Regions from separate parts of the Homo sapiens genome. Here region 2 is linked to region 1. Evidence: promoter capture Hi-C in human tissues and cell types (Jung and others, 2019). All regions are on one chromosome and are shown on one strand. Each heading gives the region's core, a stretch centred on a gene start or on the middle of the fragment in contact. The rest is flanking DNA. Distances are from core to core; before and after follow the strand shown.

The links. Contacts are between HindIII fragments. The study calls those that stand out against the background at their distance.
Region 2: a contact is called between a fragment that was not itself captured here and the fragment with the promoter of TSHZ2 in region 1, in 1 of the 25 tissues and cell types used here (lymphoblastoid cells).

What each region holds. Positions count from the first base shown.
Region 1 is chr20:52,967,920-52,974,451 of GRCh38, reverse strand. It overlaps TSHZ2 (teashirt zinc finger homeobox 2), which reads right to left and starts at 2,094. Exons shown (of 3, transcript NM_173485.6): 1 at 1,119-2,094. The coding sequence starts at 1,158. The HindIII fragment of the contact is 6,451 bases long and covers 491-6,532 here.
Region 2 is chr20:54,058,850-54,065,502 of GRCh38, reverse strand. The region is part of intron 1 of BCAS1 (brain enriched myelin associated protein 1); the gene reads left to right. Among named protein-coding and RNA genes, the nearest start is that of MIR4756, 6.3 kb to the left of the region's middle. The HindIII fragment of the contact is 5,971 bases long and covers 2,418-6,653 here.

The DNA of each region.
Region 1 (6,532 bases), core at 845-3,344:
AAAAACGCCCACATTAAAAGCCAAACAAGATAATAATTGTGCATGTCTGGCTCTGAATATAGAGGGCAAGGTTTGCGTCACTGGCACTCTGAGTTACCATGGTGAGTGATTTATTGATATATATCAAGAATGAATAGATCAAAGGCAGCGAGATGACAGGTGATCAATCAAATGTCAAATCAAAACTAGCAATCAAGTGGAAAGCTGATTTTTCAGTGGGTGGGTCTGGCAGAAGAAAAATGAACTTTCATATTACATTTCCGAGAAACAAAACCCCAGCATACTATTAAAAAAGCAATTAAGCAACCCAAAAGAAAAAAAAACTTTAGAAGGTCTATTGTACTGATCCATTAACCTGTTCTTATCTTTTTTAGGGGGCAGTAAGGATTCAGATGGGATAGTTTTTACAGTACGAATCATTTCACAAAGTTTGCAACTCTCTAGGCAAAGAAAATCCAGAGCTGTTTAAATTTCTATGGGGAATTTCCCCCCTACAACCCTTTTTGGTTTTTTTAAAGAATAGGGAAATTGTTAATTACATTTCCAAATATGGATCCTTTTAGAAAATATATGCAAAGAGTCATCCATTTCCTGGGGGCATTTTGTCCACCTTGGTGATCAACGCTAAACTCCTATTGCTGGCCCCAAAGCCTGCCTGCAGCCCGAGTGTTAGGTATGCCTCACACTTCAGCGCCCCAAGCCCCAGTGAGAGGAGACGCTATCCCTGGAGGCCAAAAGCCACTGGCACTGACCACGCAGAGGGATGCAGGGGTGGAGGGGCTGTCTCCCTACTCCGCACCCCAAATCCTCAATCCGACTTTGGCCCGAGAGGCAAGAAACAGACTGGAAGAAAGTTAGGGGTGGGGTAGAGGGTGGAGGAAAGAAAGTTTAAGGAGGAAAGGCTTGGTGGGATAGCTCACCCCAACCCAACCGGAGCTTGGAAGGGGAGGATTTGGGAGACCAGAGAAGGCGAGAGAGGACGGGGTTATTAGAAGGGCACCCGGCGCAAACTCCCCCGAAAGCTTAAGTGGGTGGTGCCCCCGGGCACCCAGGGGCAAGGAGGGCGGGCGAGGAGCTCGGCGCACAGGGCAGCCCCGAAGCGGAGCCGTTTCTCTTACCTGCCGCCCGCTTGGGTGCCTGCTGTTTTCTCCTCGGCATCCTCTACTTCGCTCCAGTCCCACTTCTGGCGCCCCAGCCCCGAGCCGCGCGCTGGGGCCCGCTGTCTCTCTGGCCTCTCTGGGTCTCCTCCGCCTCTTGCCCGGTGGCTCCTAGGACGTCACTCGGCCTCTGTCCCCCTGACGATCCCCCCTGCAACTCCTCCACCACGGGCCAGAGACCCCCCTCTCTGGGTGGCAGACACGGGTGGCTTGTGCCGGCTGCTTTGAAGTAGAGGTTGGTTCTGCCTTGTTTGTTTGTTTGTTTATTTTGAATTTTTTTTCCTCTCTCTTTTTTGTTTTTGCTTTTGGAATTTTTTTGGTTTTGTTTTTGCGGTTTTTTTTTTTTTTGGTGACTGTTGAGACACTTGATTTCTTTATTAAACATCCAAGCCCGGGTTCGGATGGAAGGGACGAGGGGCGCACACGCGCCACAGGCACACTCGCGCGTAAAGATAAGGAAAAAAAAAAGGCAATCCTGGGAAGGTAGTGGGTTTCTTCTTTTTCTTCTTCTTCCTTCTCCTCTTTCCCTCCTCCTCCTCCTCCTCCACCTCCTCCTCCACCTCCTCCTTCTTTTCTTCCTCCTCCTCCTCCTCCTCCTCGCCGATCTCTATGGCGGATTCGTGCCGGGGGGAGAGCGATCACTCACTGTAGGTTTGTGGCTGCTGTCAGATCCCCGTCTGTGAGTGATATGCGAGAGGACAGGAGCGGGTTTTGGAAAGACAGAAAATCTGGAATTCACTCACTCACACACACACACAGACACACACACAGACACTCACACACGCACTCACACGCGCACGCACCCCCGCTTCCTCGCACACACACACTCACACCCCCCACATATGCACACACACACAAACACACACACACACCCTCGCACACACACACAAGACAGGGCGAGGCGATGCCAGCAAACATCGATCCCGCTGAACAAACTGAACATTAACAAACTCCTCCTCCTCCTCCTCTCCCCGCGACCTGATGACAGGGAGAAATTTACTCCCCAGCCGCAGAGCGCCAGGCAGCGGGAGCCTATTAAAGGGACAGCGTCCCGCAGGGGAGAGGGGCTGGGGGCGGGGGCCCCGGCGCGCCGGCCCAGGCCCCTCTGTGCGCCCTCTCCGCCGGGGCGAGGGCGTGCCCACCGGGCGCGGGGACACCCCTCCGGGAGGCGGAAGGGGCGGGGGCGGGAGGAAAGGAGGTGAGGAGGGAAGGGGTGCGGGAGAAAAGGAGGCAGTGTGATGATGGCTGAACTCTGAAGCTGGGAGGCTGTGGAGGGAGATTCAGGGGGGCCAGGTTGGCTGACCAGCAGGGACCATGCACAATCTTAGGAGAGGGAGAACTTAGGTTTGCTCGGGGCTGGGAAGGGGGAGGGGACCTTATCCAGTGAGGATCTCCATCCTGTAAGTCTTAACCTGCCCCCACCAAAATGTGCTCCCCACGACCCCTTCAATTTAGTGCCCCTGTCCCTCCCACTTTCTCGCTAATCAATGGGTGGTCACAAAAACAAAAATCTCCCTTCTGTCTACTTTAAGGTCTAATCATATACTCCTCTTTTTGTTTCCTTTGAAGAATGTTTATTGAGCATCTACTATGTGCCTATTCTGGAGACACAGAGGCCACAGAGAAAGGGAAGGTGGTGGCCATGTTGGTATTTATATTCTAATGGGGGAGTGCAGACAAGTGCCCCCCAGCTATCCAATCTTTGCTTAAATGTCCCCTTTTCCCAAAGGTCTACCTCACCTAAAATACACACACACACACACACACACACTCCCTGCCCCATTTCTCCATTTTGTTATTCCCCAGTGAGCTGATCAGTGAGTGTCACACAGGTTATAGACAGTTTTCTATTCTGTTGATTGTACAAGTTCCCCTCTTGAATGTAAGCTCCAATGGAAGGAAGGATTTTTGCCTCTTTGTTCTCTTATATCCCCAAGTGCTGGCAAAGCACAAGACATATAATAAGTGCCCAGTAAAATATTTGTTGAATGAATGAAAAGTAAGCAAGCAAATAAACAGGATACTTTGAGTGATTCGCTCCATGAAGACGTTAAGCTGAGTGCTGTAATAGTGTCTAAAAGGGGGTGGGTGGCTCTAGATTCAATGTAGGATATGGCATTTGAGCACAGAGAGATTGAAACAAACATGTGATTATTGAGTTCTGCTATCGGCCAGGCACCTTTTGAGGTGTTGGGGGCAAGTCTGTGAACAAGGTGAACCTAGACCATGCCCTCAAGGAGTGCTCCTTCCAGTGAGAGGGCAAAGCAACTGAGGGCATTTGATGCAGGCTGGGACTAGAGGTGTTTTTTTTTGCTTTATTATTTTTTTTATTTCAATAGCTTTAGGGGTAAAAGTGGTTTTCGGTTACATGGATGAATTGCATAGTGGTGAAGTCTGGGATTTCAGTGCACCCGTCACCCGAGTAGTGTACATCGTACCCAATAGGTAGTTTTTCAGTCCTCACCCCCTTCCCATACTCCTCGCTTCTGAGTTGCCAATGTCCATGATATCTTTCCATATGCCTTTGCATACCCATGCATTAGCTCCCACTTATAACCAAGAACGTGTGGTATTTGGTTTTTGATCCTGAGTTACTTCACCTAGAATAACGGCCTCCAGCTCTATCCAAGTTGCTGTGAAAGACATTATTTTGTTCTTTACTATGGCTGAGTAGTATTCCACGGTGTATATATATGTGTGTATATACACACAAACACACATATATATACACAAATACACATATATAGATATATATACCACATTTTCTTTATACAATAATCAGTTGATGGGCACTTATGTTGATTTCATATCTTTGCAATTGTGCTGCAATGAATATACGCCTGCAGGTGTCTTTTTGACATAATGACTTTTTTTCCTTTGGGTAGATACCCAGTAGTGGGGTTGCTGGATCAAATGGTAGATCTACTTTTAATTCCTTGAGAAATCTCCATACTGTTCTCCATAGAGATTGTACTAATTTACATTCACACCAGCAGTGGGTATAAAAGTTCCCTTTTCCCCACATCCACACCAATATCTGTTGTTTTTTGACTTTTTAATAATGGCCATTCTGGCTAGGGTAAGGTGCTATCTCACTGCAGTTTTAATTTGCATTTACCCTGTGATTATTGATGTTCAGCATTTTTTCATTATGTTTGTTGGCCATTTGTCTGTCTCCTTTTGAGAAATGTCTATTCACGTCATTTGTCCACTTTTTAATGAGATTATTTTTTTTTTTTTCTTGCTGATTTGTTTGAGTTCCTTGTAGATTCTGGATATTAGTCCTTTGTCAGATGCATAGTTTGCAAATATTTTCACCCATTCTGTAGGTTGTCTGTTTGCTCTGATGATTGTTTCTTTTACTGGGTAGAATTTTTTTAGTTTAATTAGGCTCCATTTATTTATTTATTTTTGTTGCATTTGCTTTTGAGGGCTTAGTCAGAAATTCTTTGCCTAAGCCAATGTCCAGAAGAGTTTTTCTTAGGTTTTCTTCTAGAATATTTATGGTGTCAGGTCTTATGTTTAAAGTCTTTAATCCATCTTGAGTTAATTTTTATATATGGTCAGAGACAGGGATAGTTTCATTCTTCTACATGTGGCTATCCAATTTTCCCAGCACCATTTATTGAATAGGGCAGGGGTCCCGAACCCCTGAACCATGGACTAGCACCTGTCCATGGCCTGTAAGGAACTAGGTGGCACAGAAGGAGGTGAGCAGGTAGGGGTAAGCAAGCATTACCATTTGAGCTCTGTCACTTCAGCAGGGGCATTAGACTCTCATGGGAGCTCTAACTCTATTGTAAACTGTGAATGCAAGGGATCTAGGTTGCACACTCCTTATGAGAATCTAATGCCTAATGATCTGAGGTCAAACAGTTTTATCCCAAAACCATCCACCCTGCCCTGGTCCATGGAAAAATTGTCTTCCATGAAACCAGTCCCTGGTGAAAAAAAGGCTGGAGAACACTGGAATAGACCTTTTCCCAACTTATGTTTTTATATGCTTTGCCAAAGATCAGTTGGTTATAAGTATGTGGTGAAGGTGTTCTTAGGAGGAGTGATTACCCTGAACTTGGCGAAAGGAAGGATGGTTACCAGGCGGGGCTTCAAGGGAAGAGGTAAGTCAAAGCTGAGTCTTACATATAACAAACGGGTAGGCAAAAAGGGAACTCTGATACTGAAGCCCTTGTATCAAAAAGACACCGTGTAAGGCTTCTGCTTCCGCATTAAAATCTCCTGAGGCCCTTGTTAAGATGCACGTACCTGGTCCTTGCCCTAGAGCAAGATTTTCTAACCCAGGCCCTATTGACATTGAAGGTCTGATAATTCTTTGTTAGGAGGGGCTGTCCTGTTCAATGTAGGATGTTTAGGAACATCCCAGGCTTCCGTTGTGACAATGCAAACTGTCTCCAGATACTGCCCAATGTCCCCTGGTAGGCAAAATCGTCCTTGGCTTAGCATCACTACCCTAGATCTTCTGAATCAGAAAATTCCGGATGAAGGCTTAGAGATCTGTATTTTGAACATGTAACCCATCCATCCCTACAAGTGAAACTTCTGCTCACACCAGTTAGAGAACATCTGCCCCCAAATTGTTTGTTCTTTTGTAATCAGACATACTCAATGTTGTTAACTATAAAGCCAAGTCAGGCTTAGATATTAATGTAACTTAAGGGTTCAAGGGGTGATGTTGTAATGGTGGCCGTCGCGATGGGGTTTCACCTGTGCCCACTCCTCAATACTCCTCCTCCCACCATGATCACCCCCACCCCACCACCCCAGCAAGGCCTGCCCAGTCTGATCTGGGACACTTCCCACTACAACCCACCCACCTGCTTATGGGGAACTACCAGTTCTGACTAGTTCCATGAATATTTTTCTTAACAGTTCTTTGGGCTGTATGACACTCAACTTTCCCTATCCTACTTGTCAGCCACAAAGTGTTGTTGTGATTGTTTGCAAAGTGCTGTTTAATCATTTTTAACATCCTCACGCACTTCTCCATCTCACATGTGTGGTACAAGTTGTTAACTCACTTGCCCTAAATCACCCGAGAAGCCTCCACCCATGACCAACTCCACCCAGTCCCAGCCTAGTCCTTAGGCAACTGAGGCAGAAAAAGCCCGATTTCATAGTTGGCAATGTCAACAAAAAAGGTATTAATTCTAATTACCCAATACATTTTTACAGAGCACTGTGCAAGGGACCATAGCCTATTGAATAAAACCTCACAGCCTTGCAGCCAAGGAACCACCGTTGTGGGATTAGGGGATACTTGTTTATAGGATCAGGAGGCCTGAACAGAAGAGGAGTGAAGCTGCAGCAACCTCACCATGAAGCCGCCATGCTCTGTGCAAGCCCCATGCCTGCTGGTG
Region 2 (6,653 bases), core at 4,154-6,653, 1.1 Mb before region 1:
AGCCTCTACCCACCGGATACCAGTGCACGCCCCCCAAAGCTGAACCGTGACTATCAAAACTGCATGCAGGCATTTCCAAATGCCCCTTCGGGGCCAAAATCGCTCCTGACTCCAGAAACGCTGTGCTCCACTTATTGTGAGGGAGAAACAAAGAACAGCATATTTCCAAGGAGAAAACGTTTAGCAAAGCAATGTAAGTCATCGAGGAATAGGACAAGATATCCAAAATATGAAATATAGATATATAGTCCTGGAAAATTGGTACCAAAATAAAATACCCTAAACATTGTAAATATGTTATATATATAGTGTGTGTGAGATAGATAGATAAAGTAGATGATAGATAGATAGATAGATAGATAGATAGATAGATAGATAGATAGATAGATGATAGATAGATACTCATCATAAAGTTGAAATATTGTCAGTCGAACCATCATGAGTTGAGTTTGGGACATCTATATCACTAATAGCTACTAGGTGCTCGCCCTGCCAGGCACTTTCCCATCACATTTACCCCTTCGCACGGTACCACGATGTATCAGGACATGCCACTCAACCTCTCTGTGCTCCGGCTTCTCATAAGACAACTGGGAAAATAAAAGTACCTAACTCAGAGAGTTGTTGGGAGGACCAAGAGAGGCAAATATATGCAAATCAGAACTGCTCAGCACAGAGAAAACACTCTAAATGTGTTTATTATTGCCACCATTATGAATACTGTCATTTTCCACAAGAAAGATACTTTCAGAAGGGTCAAGTGCTTTGCCCAAAGCCTCACGATCGTGGGATTTTACGGATGCCTGTCTCACTCCAGATCTCTTGTTCTCAAGAGGAGAGAGGGGAACCCCAGAGATGCAGGAGAGCGAGACTGCGGAGGGCAGCCTCCACCCACCTCCGGTGGGGCATCTGGGCTTGCTTCTGAATAACCAGCTGGAAAGCCTGCCCTGCCCGCCAGTTCTGGGGGAAGGGAAGCTGGAGGCCCAGGACAGTTCTCTTGATTTGCAAGCTCACGAAACAGTGCGTCAGCAAAGCAGTGCCCCTAGAAGGGTTGTGAGTGTATTCAGGTGCCTGGGTGATGGTGGTCTGTGGACTCCGAAGCCTGAGCTATTCCTCCGTCTGAGAATCCGTGGGTTTGGTTGTCTAGGTCAGGGTAGGCAGCAGCCAGGAGAGTTCTGACCCCAGGAGACACTCACTCACTCACCCCAGAAATATCCAAAACAGGGGCTCTCAGCCATGGAAATCACCTAGAGATCTTGAAAGTACCCCGATGCCCAGCCCCACCCCAGAGAATCTGCTGTCATCAGTTTGGCAGGGGCCTGGGCATGGGGATCTCAGAACTCTGTGGGAGGTTCTCACATGCAGCCCAGTCTGGGCATGGGCCCCCATAACACAGGCAGGAGGCGGGGAAGTGAAGGGGCTTTCTCATCTGAACCTCCACAATCAACCCCCAGTGGCAAAGTGCCAAACCCTCAAACACAAGTCTAATTTCAAAAACAACACCCCTCCACCCACCATAGCTTCGTATGTTTAATGTAAAATAAGGTCATAAAGACAAAACACTCATATAATCAGTTCATGAAAGAAAGGGCATTTTAACACCCCATTCAAACTTTTTCTTTTTCAAAAATGAAAGTTAGCTCTTTCAATTGTACGTTTATCATGAAAAACTCTATCTGATTTATTTTTCTCCTTTTTGAGAAATGGGAGAAAACTATTACAGACAAGAATTACTGTCTGAACTGCCTTGAGCCTCAGTTTTCCCATCTATTAAACGGGGATTTAAAAAAAAGTCTCCACCCAAGTCATTCTGGTTTGCCCAGGGTTTTCCAATTTTAACATAAGAGTCCTGTGTCCTAGAGCATCCTCACTCCTGGAAAAAGCTTGAAGATGGTCACCATCACACTATTTTCTATAGGTGTCTGATCATGAGAATCACTGGGGCATTTGCTAAAAATACAAATTCCAGGGCCCCAAATTGACTTTTCGGTGAGAGGATCACAGGAATCAGAAATGTTGCTGGATTCCTCGGTAGAGTCTCACTACCGGGCACCTGTGGGAGAAACTGGCTTCAAAGAGCAAGGATCATACCCGTGAGAGTCCTACTCATGCTAACTCTTGTGCAGTCCTCTTTATGTGCCAGGCCCTGTTCAGGGCACTTTGCTTATATTCACTGGTTTGACTCCATACCAGCCCCTTGAGATGGAGGCTATAATTATCCCCATTTTTACAGATGAGGAAACTGAGGCCCAGCGAGGCTCAGTGATGCTCAGGGATTCCAAACTCCAGAGCCCACATTCCTATCCTATGTGCTACACTGATGTCTACATAGAGCTTCAGCACTGGGCTGGCATACGGCAAGCTCTCCATACAAGTCATATATGGTTATCATTATTACGAGTTCCAGGACCTTTGGGGCACTGAAGGAGTTGCCATCTTCTTGCCAACTGTGAACAGAAGGCTTCATTGCAAAACATCAAAATGCTTCTTTCAGCCTTCCCAGTTGTTTGGACCTAGTCCTGTAGGCTGAATTCATTTCTGCTAATATTGACATCAGCCAATAGATGGCAGTAACCTTTTGCTTTTGTCCCACCCAGATGAATCCTGTTCTTTAAAAGGTTGATGGACAGGCAGGAGCAATTTCACGACACATGCATTATATCTGCTGGTGGAGAGTGACAATATCTGAATCCAGGTTATCACTGAAAAAGACACGCCATTAGATTTTCCTTCTTTCAGGGCCCTTCACCTTGAAGTGGCCGAGAGGCTACTTAGGGTGTGCAATGATCAGAATAATGTAACCCCAACTCTGTGGGAAGAAAAATCTTCTCTCCTACTTCTGTACACCATGCGTCTTCCAGCACCAAGGTTTTTCATAACCTCAAGTGTTGATTCAAAGTAGCTTTGTTAGGATTGAATTTACATTAAATAGTAAGAGCTTTAAAATAAAGCTTGTAATCCTACTGTTAAAATAATTTTAAAACTTGTTAAAAGCTGAATTTAGATAGAGATACTTTGTGTGTATATATTCTTGCATGTGTATATATGAACGTATGTGTTTGCGCGTATCCTTGACTGAGACATTTAACCTGCGTGCCTCAGTTTCCACACCAGCAAAATTGAAATAATAATACCTCTGTCTTGTTGAATTGCTGCAAAGAGCAAATTAGTTTTACTGCAAATAAAGCTCCTAGAAGTTTCTCAACAGATGGTAAGCACTCACCAAATGTTGTTATTGTTATTACTCTATCATTTCTATGATTTTTTAGAGTTGTTGTCATTGTTTTTATACACAGTAGGCTCAAATCCTGGTAAACTTTCTGTAAAGAGCCAGATAGTAAATATCTTAGGCTTTGCAGGCCATAGGTGTCTGTTGCAACTACTCAGTTCTGCCATTATAGCATGAAAGCCATCATAGACAATATATAAATAAAAGGGCATGACTATCTTCCAGCAAAACTTTATTTATGGATGCCAAAATTTGACTTTCATATAATTTTCATGTGTCACATTCTATGATTCTTCTAATTTTTTTCCAACCATTTATAAATTTAAAACTCATTTTTAGCTCACTGGCCTACTAAAACAGGCAGTGAGCTGAATCCAGCCACCGCTGTTCTTTGCCAACCCTGGTCTTGAGGATTCAATATTATATTATTCATAATGTCCCATTAACAGACAGAAGCGATGATCTGATGCAAGTGTGTGAGTCACGGATTTTATAAATAGAAAATAGCACAAAACAACAAGTGTCCTACATGTTTTAACAGTGCTCAGCTTTATTATGTGGTATGATCAGAAGACATACAAAATCCCCAGATTTGGTTATGTATTAAATTCCTGCAAGAGAACACATGGTGAGATCCATGACCCTTTTTTTGGCCTCCTCAATATCTAATTGCTCAATGCGTCTACTACCAGGGAATAAAAACTCACACCAATGGCGAGAGATCCACAAGAATCCCTGGTGACTCATTGACTCCTTTCAGCCAGAAATCAAAAGTCCTAATTTTTATTCCGAGAGCCACTAGAGCAGATAAGCCAGAAGCTAGGTCTTTGGAGATGGGCTACATTGGAATTACATGTGCAAAAGAACTTTAGGTGGCAAGACAGCAGGCCTTTGGAGTGGCTGCAAGAGTCCTTGTGTAGGGATCAGATATACTAGGAGTCAATTCCTCACTGGATGTTTGCCCTTGGTGGGTCTTGGAGGTTCCATTCCTCCTTTTTAAGGGAAGCTAGTAATATGCAGAACATTCCGGTGGTTAGGAGCACAGCCAGACTGTGTTTGAATCTTGCTCATTAACTGGGTGACCTTTGGAAAATGATTTAACCCCCTCGAGTTTCGGCTACCTCATATGAAGAATGAAATCATGATACCTCTATCTCACAGGAGTGCTATAGGACTACATGAGACAATACAGGTGAAGCACTCCAAAATTAGAGCTTGGAATTGAGAACATGCTAAGTAATGATTTGCTATTATCATCATTATTATTATATATCATACATTATTATAACGAAGCTCTTCAGAGGTTTGGTGATGATGTGGTCATGTACCTAGGTCTGTGCCTCATATGTGAGAGATGCTATCAATCGTTATTCCCTCCATTGACTAACAATAATTAAGCTCCCAGTAAATGCAAACACACTGCTAAGATTAGGAGATACAAAATTGGGTGAAGGTAGACACTGCCTTTGACGTCAGGGTGCTTACAATTTCTTGTGGAAGGGAGACATAAATTAAATATTCAACTTTGCCCTTCACCTATGGGACAATAACCACATTAACAGTCATTTCAGAACCATCCTACCCAGCAGTGCCACAACCTGCCATCTCCCATATGATCCCATCTCACGTAATGTTATTAATTACTTTTATTCGACCAGGCGCAGTGGCTCATGCCTGTAATCCCAACACTTTGGGAGGCCAAGGCGGGTGGATCACATGAGGCCAGGCACTCGAGACCAGTCTGGCCAACATGGTGAAAACCCATCTCTACTAAAAATACAAAAAAAAAAAAAAATAGTCTGGTGTTGTGCCACGCACCTGTTATCCCAGCTACTCAGGAGGCTGAGGCAGGAGAATTGCTTAAACCCAGAAGGCGGAGGTTGCAGTGAGCCGAGATTGCACCACTGCACTCCATCCTGGGCAACAGAGAGAGACTCCGTCTCAAAAAAAAATTACTTTTATTCATAACTTAGAACCCTATGCATTTTTGTTTAATAAGCAGATATGTTTTGCTTAACATGAGCTAGACATTGTTCTAACCACGTCACAAGCATTAACTCATTGGGTCCTTATAGCAGTCTTATGAGGCACAGAGAGGCTAATTAACTCTCCCAAGGACACACAGCTACAAGGGGCAGAGAGAGGATTCATGCCCAGGCAGTCTTGCTCTAGAGTCTGTGGTCATAACCACTGTGCCATGCTGCCTTGAACTATCAGAAACAACCTCGTTTGTGGATTTATTGTTCCTATGTTAACTCTCTCCCTGTGCACCATACTTCAGCTCCATGAAGTCAGAGGGCCTTGCCTGTTTAATTTACAGCTGTAACCCTAGTGCCCAGCCCAGCAACAGGTGCAGAGCTGTGCTCAATAGACACAGTCATACACTGCATAATGATACCTTAGTCAATGATGGACCACATATACTTAGTGGTCACATGACATTATAATACTATGTATTTACTGGACTTTTTCTGTTTCGATATGTTTAGGTACACAAATACTTCCCAGTGTGTCACAATTTCCCAGAGTGTTCAATGTGGTTGCGTGCTGTGCAAGTTAGTGGCCTAGGAACGATAGGTTATACCATACAGCCTAGGAGTGTAGTAGGCTATACTATCTATGATGTTCATACAACCATGAAATCATCTAATGATGCATTTCTCAGAACATTTTCTCGCCCTTAAGTGACACATGACCATATGTGCTAAATCAGTGAAAGCATGAATATATACCCAAGTAAGTATATAATTACAAGCCCTGCTAAATGCTATGAAAAAAAAAAGGCCGTAGTGTAAAAGGTTTTAATAGGGGAATTAATTTAGTTTGAGAATCAGAAAAAAATATTATTATTTCAATTACCCTCATTCTAAAATCCTAATAGCTGTGACTTTAACTAAAAGAGAAAAAAATGCTATCTACACTGAATACACTTTTCATGATGATAAATATTTTCCCCTAGCAATGAAATGCAACTGAAAATTATGACTGCATTTAACTTTAATTCTGTTGAATACATGAGTCCAAAATCTCCTTTCTATTTCCCAAAATAAATATAAGCAATGATATAGTTTGGTTGTGTCTCTACGTAAAATCTTACCTTGAATTGTAATCCTCATAATCCCCACGTCAAGGATGGGACCAGGTGGAGGTAATTGGATCATGGGGGCGGGTTCCTCCACGCTGTTCTCGTGATACTGAGTGAGTCTCGCGAGATCTGATGGTTTTATAAGCATCTGGCATTTCCCCAGCTCGCACTCATTCTTCTGGTGTCCTGTGGAGAGGTGTCTTCTGCCACGATTGTAAGTTTCCTGCGGTCTCCCCAGCCATGCGGAACCATGAGTCAATTCAACCTCTTTTCTTTATAAATTACCCAGTCTCGGGTATTTCTTCATAGCAGTGTGAGAACGGACTAATACAAGCAATT